Regions from separate parts of the Homo sapiens genome. Here all the other regions are linked to region 2. Evidence: promoter capture Hi-C in human tissues and cell types (Jung and others, 2019). All regions are on one chromosome and are shown on one strand. The core of a region is centred on a gene start or on the middle of the fragment in contact, and the rest is flanking DNA. Distances in the headings are between cores, read along the strand shown.

Evidence for each region. The method cuts DNA at HindIII sites, captures the fragments that hold promoters and counts their contacts. A contact is called where the count stands out against the background at its distance.
Region 1: a contact is called between a fragment that was not itself captured here and the fragment with the promoter of FOXB2 in region 2, in 5 of the 25 tissues and cell types used here (IMR-90 fibroblasts, adrenal gland, bladder and 2 more).
Region 3: a contact is called between a fragment that was not itself captured here and the fragment with the promoter of FOXB2 in region 2, in 5 of the 25 tissues and cell types used here (liver, mesenchymal stem cells, ovary and 2 more).

The regions. Positions count from the first base shown.
Region 1 is chr9:76,966,942-76,969,662 of GRCh38, forward strand. No RefSeq gene overlaps it. Among named protein-coding and RNA genes, the nearest start is that of FOXB2, 51 kb to the right of the region's middle. The HindIII fragment of the contact is 3,894 bases long and covers 1-2,721 here.
Region 2 is chr9:77,018,231-77,021,032 of GRCh38, forward strand. FOXB2 (forkhead box B2) reads left to right here and starts at 1,425. Exons shown (of 1, transcript NM_001013735.1): 1 at 1,425-2,723. The coding sequence starts at 1,425. The coding sequence ends at 2,723. The HindIII fragment of the contact is 6,747 bases long and covers 1-2,802 here.
Region 3 is chr9:76,983,033-76,985,745 of GRCh38, forward strand. No RefSeq gene overlaps it. Among named protein-coding and RNA genes, the nearest start is that of FOXB2, 35 kb to the right of the region's middle. The HindIII fragment of the contact is 5,344 bases long and covers 1-2,713 here.

The sequences.
Region 1 (2,721 bases), core at 1-2,500, 51 kb before region 2:
GCTCAACAACCCCATATACGTTCACATGCATCGTCTCGTTTAATTCTGTGCTTTGTTCCATCATTCCCTCTGAGCAAAATGGCTGCCACCTCTACACCACCAACCCAAATTCAATCCTTCAAGTTCAAACCTCACCTCTTCCACAAAGTCTTCCCGTGATCCCTCCCGCTAATAGCAATCTCCTCCTGGTCTGAATTTAAAGCACTTATTTTCTGAAGTAATCACTTGGCAATGATCCATACTAGTCTTATGATTTCTTTCCATTTTCAATGGTCTCATATGTTTGCTTCTGCAACTTGGCTATAAATGAACAGGAGGGGCACAGCCTATGTCTTTTTGTAGTATTACACAAGATCACCTTCTTCTAATAACCCTTTGAACCACGGGTATCACCACTTTTCTCCAGCCCATACCTACACAATACCACCCAACTTTGCAAAGTTATAGGTGACAAAGTACATATTGGTCCTAACCCATAAATATCCATCCTTTTAAATGTTCAACAACCCTGTGAAGAAGGTTTTATGATTTCTATTTTAGAGGAGACAAAATTGAGACGCAGGATGTTAAGTAATTTGCCCCAATCTCATTGACAATTTGACTAATCACATTGCTAAGAAGTGATAGTATTGTCAAGTGACAGTTTCACTTACTGTGCCAGATTATGCTGCTCTAGAATATATTCCCAGAATCTAATACTGTTTAGATCCTTATAGCACTTCACATAGTAAGTGAAAAGAACTGAGATTGCTTTTAAGAGAGCAAGAGAGTGAGAAAGCTCACAGGTAAATATTGGTAGAGAAATTAGCAACGAATATATAATTGGGAAGTATAGTTCTCATCCTTTAGTTGGATCTTTACAGAATCAGTATATAGGCTTCAGGACGCCTGTGAACCACTTGAAATTAAAATGAAATTGTACCAGGAATGTGTACATCTGTGCATATTGTGGGAGGGAGAGTCCACAGCTTTTATAAGATTATTAGAGTAATTCTCTGCCAGTCCTCAGGGTGATCACACATCTTTTGCTTTTCTCTCTTCCTGGCCCATAAGCAGATGGCACTGTCCCACCTCTAGAAGCAAATACATCCATGTGACTTGGGGCACTGAAATGTGAGAGTGACTTTGGGCACTTTTGGACAGAAACCTTAAGAGACAAAGCTTACCACATTTCATTTCCCTCTGGTATCATGGTTGGCAATGGTCAAAATGGCAGCAACTCCATTAGCTCAGGCCCCTGAGGCTCTGCAAATCGGCCGGTCCCTCCTGCCAATCCAAAATGGACATGTAGTGTGAGGAAAAAAAAAAGCTTTGATGTTTTATTCCAAGGAGATCATACGGCTATTTGTTCCTACAGCACACCCTCATTTGTCATCGCCGATACACATCTTTAACCCCTCAAAAGTTAAAGATCACTTTAACCCTAATGAATGAAGTCCTAACAGAAGACGAATTCCAGGAAGAATTTCTTCTTCTCTTCATACCGATGAGAGCCATATACTATATTGAATTCTGCCTTAGTATTCCAATTACCTCTGAGTAACATTTCTCCCTATGGTAGCATATGACACATTGCTCTTTTTTCCTTCGTAAGTCACACACAATCACTCATGAAGGAAAAAATTGTGCACGTAAGTGCCAGAAGCTCCTAGGAGAAGGAAGCATGATCATGAACAGCTTACAGAGGGGAAGAATTCCTCAGAGATTTGGGACCATTTTCTCTGTTTGTCCCATTAGTAGCTCTGAACATCCATATGAATGGAATATTCCATTAATCACTTAGTCAGTTTCCATGGCTCAAGACAGTTCTCCAATTATCATGCACAACTTGGCAATATTCATCTCTCTAAAATGTCATTTGGAGCATGTCATTTTCTTTGTCAAAATCAGGCAGTGTTTTCCTAGTACCAACAGGACAGAAGTACAAAGATGTTGCCTTAGCAGTCAAGCCCACTTGCACACAGCAACTATCAGTATCATGGGTATTGATGCCATCACCCAGCTTCCTGCCCTCTGTATACCTCATACTAACCAGACCAGTTGTCTCTTAATGCCCTGAACAAACTGGCGTGTCTCCACCTCAATACCTTTGTTTACTCTGTTCCCCTTGCCTGGAATGTCTTCTCTCCCTCCTCTCACACAAATCCTCCAAAACTACAAATTCACTTACTCTCTGATGAAGCGATTGACCTCTAGGTATCTATCTCAAAGACTGACTGGAAAAAATATGAAATGCTATTTATTGCAGCACTATTATGATAACAAATGACTGAAAACATCAAACTTTCCATTAAAAGTAATGACTGAACAACTTGTTAGAGCTGTGCAATGAGATACTGTGCAGTCATAAAAAGTACTGAGAAGTATCTGGATATAGAGTGATCTCTAGGATATATTAAGTGAAGACAGTACATTGGGGGAAAATGTGTGTTCTGTGTTAATAAATAGCTAAGGCACATGGGCTCATACTGAGTGCTAGGGAGGCTTCCACAGCCTGGGATGGGGCAGAACACCTGTAAGAAATCCCTTTGAGGCAACCCAGCCTTCTTGAGTTAACTGCAGCAGCCTTCCAAAGACTGTGAGTAAGGTAGCAAACCAGATATCCCCAGGCATAGACCCCTACAGGCACAAGTGGAAAGCAACGAGAACTTCCCAAAGACCCCAAAAGCAGACAGCCAGGCTGTAAAGCAAAGAGAGATCTCCCAGGGCTCAAAATTCAGA
Region 2 (2,802 bases), core at 175-2,674:
CCTTGAGGACACGATACTCTGAACTTGACCCAGAGTGTCTAGCCCAGGAAAAAGGGTTTGTAAGGAGAGAGAAGCTCACAGCGAGTAGATGAAAACAGGGAAGGGTAAAAGGAAGGGGGCGGAAGAGGGAGATGCCAGAGAGAAGAGAAGCAAGAAGGCAGTGTCCTGTTCCCCCTCCACCGTGCTTGGTGGCCCGGGTGGGGCGCAGCTGCGGGAAATGCACCCGGAGCTGTGCCCCCTCCCGGCGAACAGCCTGCGCCACCCGCCGCACCGGGAGGTGGCTGGGGGCTGCCGAGCGAGTGGTGAACGCGATGGGTGGAGAGCGCCCGAAACGAGGTGGAAAAGGGGGCGGGGGCGAGGCACGGCGCCTTCTTGCCCCTTCTTCAGCTACAGACGCGGCGGCGGCGGCTGAGTCCCTCAGCCTCGGTCATGTGATAGTCTCGAAGCGCTAGCTGCGGGGGTCTCGGCGTCTCGGGGACCATTACAAAACGCAGCCAGGAGAGCGCGTCGCTGCCACTGCCGTCGCCTCTCCTCCTCAAGACAAGCCCGGGAGAAAGGCGGCAGCTGCGGCGCGGACGGCTGAGCCTCCCCGGCCAGCACTCACCCAGCATTCGCAGACGCCCTCTCCAGCCCGCCGCTCGCTCCCAGAGTCCTGCGCCCCACACTCCTCAGCAGAACCTGCGGGCGCTGCCGCTTCAGAAACCACCAAAGTTTTTTCTCCTCAGCGACAGCCTAGGGCTGCGCGTCTCTTCTAACCCCGGCGACGCTGCGAGCCTCGGAGAAAAGAGAGGCGCCCTAGAAGCCAATCTTCTCTCTCCTTACCCTGATTTTTCACTCCAGGAAAAGGAGAACTCCAGCGCGGTCTGGCTAAGTGCCTGGCCAGGGGCCTGCGTCCAGGGCACTGGAAGTCCTGCTGTCACTGGCCTCCAGGACAGCAGGCGCAAACTCAGATTTAAAGGGCCAGAGTCTCTACTGCCCAGACCTTCCTCCCAGCCATCTTGGTCTGGGTTTCCCTCGGACCTAGAAAAAGCAAAGAGGCCGGGAGGAAACACGGCCCCTTGCCACTCTCCTCTGCAGCCAGCTCCAGCACTCAGTCTTTGGCCACCCGGGGGAAGACGCAGAGAAGGCGGCGGTAAACCTGGTGCACTCCGCCCGCGACTGTGCGCGCCAGTCGGCAACCGTCGGGGCCAGAAGTTGCCAGCTTCCGAGAGCTGAGTAGGCCCGAAAGGCCAAGGTCGGAGACACCAGGCAATTCGGAGAAGGCAGGAGAGAGAAGCAGAGAGGGCCTGGAGGGCGAGAGGGCAAAGTGGCGGGACTGGAGGGGCCGAGTGGGAATTAGTGGGGGCAGCCAGGCCCCAGGAACGGAGTGCGGAGAGATTCTGTGGTCCAGTGCGGGCCGGAGGGCGGTGGAGGAGCCGGGGGCGATGCCGCGGCCGGGGAAGAGCTCGTACAGCGACCAAAAACCGCCCTACTCTTACATCTCGCTGACCGCCATGGCAATCCAGCACTCGGCCGAGAAGATGCTGCCGCTGAGCGACATCTACAAGTTCATCATGGAGCGCTTCCCCTACTACCGCGAGCACACACAGCGCTGGCAGAACAGCCTGCGCCACAACCTCTCCTTCAACGACTGCTTCATCAAGATTCCGCGGAGGCCCGACCAGCCTGGCAAGGGTAGCTTCTGGGCGCTGCACCCCGACTGCGGGGACATGTTCGAGAACGGCAGCTTCCTGCGGCGTCGCAAGCGCTTCAAGGTGCTGCGCGCCGACCATACTCACTTGCACGCGGGAAGCACCAAGAGCGCGCCGGGCGCCGGTCCGGGAGGGCACCTTCACCCCCATCACCACCACCACCCCCACCACCACCATCATCACCACGCTGCCGCACACCACCACCATCACCACCACCCACCCCAGCCGCCGCCGCCGCCGCCCCCGCCGCCGCCGCACATGGTACACTATTTCCATCAGCAACCGCCTACTGCTCCGCAGCCGCCTCCGCACCTCCCGTCACAGCCCCCGCAGCAACCGCCCCAGCAGTCGCAGCCTCAGCAGCCGTCTCACCCCGGCAAGATGCAGGAGGCGGCGGCCGTGGCGGCGGCGGCGGCGGCGGCCGCGGCAGCCGCGGTGGGCAGCGTGGGACGCCTGTCTCAGTTCCCACCCTACGGGCTGGGCTCGGCCGCCGCCGCTGCCGCCGCGGCCGCGGCGTCCACGTCAGGCTTCAAGCACCCCTTTGCCATTGAGAACATTATTGGCCGGGACTACAAGGGCGTGCTGCAGGCTGGAGGGCTGCCCTTGGCGTCCGTCATGCACCACCTGGGCTACCCCGTGCCCGGCCAGCTTGGCAACGTCGTCAGCTCCGTGTGGCCGCACGTTGGCGTCATGGATTCGGTGGCCGCCGCCGCGGCCGCCGCAGCCGCAGCCGGAGTCCCTGTAGGCCCGGAGTATGGGGCCTTCGGGGTCCCGGTCAAGTCCCTGTGCCACTCGGCAAGCCAGAGCCTGCCTGCCATGCCGGTGCCCATCAAGCCCACGCCTGCGCTGCCGCCCGTGTCCGCGCTGCAGCCGGGGCTCACTGTCCCCGCGGCTTCGCAGCAGCCTCCGGCGCCATCCACCGTGTGCTCCGCGGCCGCGGCCTCGCCCGTTGCCTCTCTGCTGGAGCCCACAGCCCCTACCTCGGCCGAAAGCAAGGGCGGCTCCTTGCACTCGGTGCTAGTGCACTCCTAGGGGACCCGGCGGGCGTGGGGAGACCAGCGGGGTGAGAGACGCCGGGCCCGGAACCGCCCAAACCACCCGACGGGGAGAG
Region 3 (2,713 bases), core at 162-2,661, 35 kb before region 2:
TATGATGCTAGCTGGTTATTTTGCAGACTTGTTTATGTGGTTGCTTCATAGTGCTGCTGGTCTCTGTACTTCAGTGTGTTTTTGTGGTGGCAGGTAATGGTTTTTCCTTTCCATATTTAGTGCTTTTTCAGGAGCTCTTGCAAGGCAGGCCTGGTGATGTCAAATTCCCTCAGCATTTGCTTGTCTGAAAAGGATCTTATTTCTCCTTAGCTTATGAAGCTTAATTTGGCCAGATATAAAATTCCGGGTTGGAAATTCTTTTCTTTAAGAATGTTGAATAGTGTCGTTTCTGTATCTTGGCTATTGTAAACAACGCTGCGATGAACATGGTAGTACAAATATCTTTTATTTGGTCTTCCCCCAATCTCCTCTGGCTTGTAGAGTTTCTGCTGAGATGCCCACTGTTAGTCTGATGGGCTTGCCTTTGTAGTGACCTGGCCTTTCTCTCTGGCTGCCCTTAACATTTTTTCTTCCATTTCAACCTTGGAGAATCTAAAGATTGTGTGTCTTGGGATTGATCTTCTCATGGAGTGTCTTACTGGGGTTCTCTGGATTTCCTGAATTTGAATGTTGGCCTGTCTTGCTAGGTTGGGAAAATTCTCCTGGATGATATCCTGAAGTATGCTTTCCAACTTGGTTCCATTCTCCCTGTCACTTTCAGGTATTCCAATCAGTCATAGGTTTGGTCTTTTTACATAATCCCATATTTCTTGGAGGTTTTGTTCATTCTTTTTCCTCTATTCTTGTCTGCCTGTCTTATTTCAGAAAGATAGTCTTCAAGCTCTGAGATTCTTTCCTCCACTTGGTCTATTCTGCTATTGATGCTTCTGATTGCATTGTGAAGTTCTTGTGTTGTGTTTTTCAGCTCCATCAAGTCAGTTCTGTTCCTCTCTAAATTGGCTATTCTGGTTATCAGCTCCTGTACTGGTTCTTAGCTTCTTTACATTGAGTTAGAACATGATCCTTTAGCTCAGTGAAGTTCATTATTACCCACCTTCTAAAGCCTACTTCTGTTAATTCAGCCATCTCAGCCTCAGCCCAGTTCTGTGCCCTAGCTAGAGATGTGTTGGGTCATTTGGAGAAGAAGCAGCACTCTGGCTTTTTGAGTCTTCAGTGTTTTTGCGTTGATTCTTTGACATCTTTGTGGGCTTATCTCCCTTCGATCTTTGAGGTTGCTGAACTGTGAATAGGGGTTTTGTGGGGTCTTTGTTGTTGATGTTGTTGTTATTGCTTTCTGTTTGTTTGTTTTCCTTTAACAGTTAGGCCACTCTTCCATAGGGCTGCTGTGGTTTGCTGGGGGTCCACTCCAGATCCGAGTCACCTCAGTCCCTCCCTGGACGTATCACCAGCGAAGGCTACGAAACAGCAAAGATGGCAGCCTGCTCCTTCCTCTGGGGGCTCCATCCCAGGGGGCACCAACCTGATGCCAGCCTGAACGTTCCTACAGGAGGTGTCTGGAGACCCCTGTTAGGAGGTCTCACCCAGTCAGGAGGAACAGGGTCAGGGACCCACTTAAAGAAGCAATCTGGCTGCCCCTTGGCAGAGCAGGTGTGCTGTGCTGGGGGGAGCCCTCCTCATCCAGACTGCCCAGACTCTCTAGAGCCAGGAGGCTGGGAAGGCTATGTTAGCTAAATCACAGACAGGGTGGCCACCCCTCCCCCGGGGACTTCGTCACAGGGAGAGATCAGATGAACTCATGATTTTTAAAAATAGATTTCCTAGTTCTGACCGTTGAAAGAGTCTAGAAGTACCAAAACTCCGGTAGCAATTAGCATACCTAGTATCTGGATCTTGGCTTCTAAATACCATTCCCCAATAAAAGGAATCAAATATCCTCAGTAAAAGGTTGAATTCCAAGTCTGGGGCAAGGAAAGGACAAGATGAGACATCTTGTTTTGCCAGAAAGCAAGGAAGCCTTTACTAAAGAAATGATAAGGGCATATCAGTAAAACACAGCAACCAGTTTTCAGGGCTTCTACTTGGCAAATTTGGGGAAATTGTAGCCTCAATAAGTATAATGAATTGTTAAATATTGAATAAATGAAAAGGCATAAGTCCACATACAATACTCAAAGGAGGCAAAACAAAACAAAATTAATTTGGCACCATGGAAGATTATGACTATTATTTTAACTTTCAACTCCTTACTCTGAAAATTGGAAATTAAAACAAAAGAACTATTTTCCCTGCTTCCTAAGAGCAATGGTAGTTAATCTCCAGGTGATCTAGAAAAGCTTCTTCAGAGAAGAATGTCGGCTAATAAGTTTGCAACCCCCAGTGAAATAATTGATTCAGAAAATGACTAAATCAATGAATGTTAAAATCATTAGTTAAAAGATTGCTGGGAAAAGGACAGTGTCATATATCTCCAGTTGCTTGCTAATTGCAAAGGGGAAAATGGGCCTTTACAATCAGAGATCTACTTGTCACAACAAAACCAAGTAACTTAGCATCATTAATAGTGAAACAACCTGGCATTTTGTGCCTCCTGATGTGGTGCAATATGAAGTACACAATAACATTTATAAAGTTATCTGGCCAAAATATTCTACCTGAATCTCATCAAGGTTTCAGAGCTGACTTCCAGTTTATAGTAGCTACAAGCAAGAGAGGAACTAGTTAAAAGATAAGATATTGCATCAGACACACTTATGTATCAGATCCTCTCGGCCTCATCTGTCTCCAGGGACATTGTGTTCAGCTCCAGGCATCC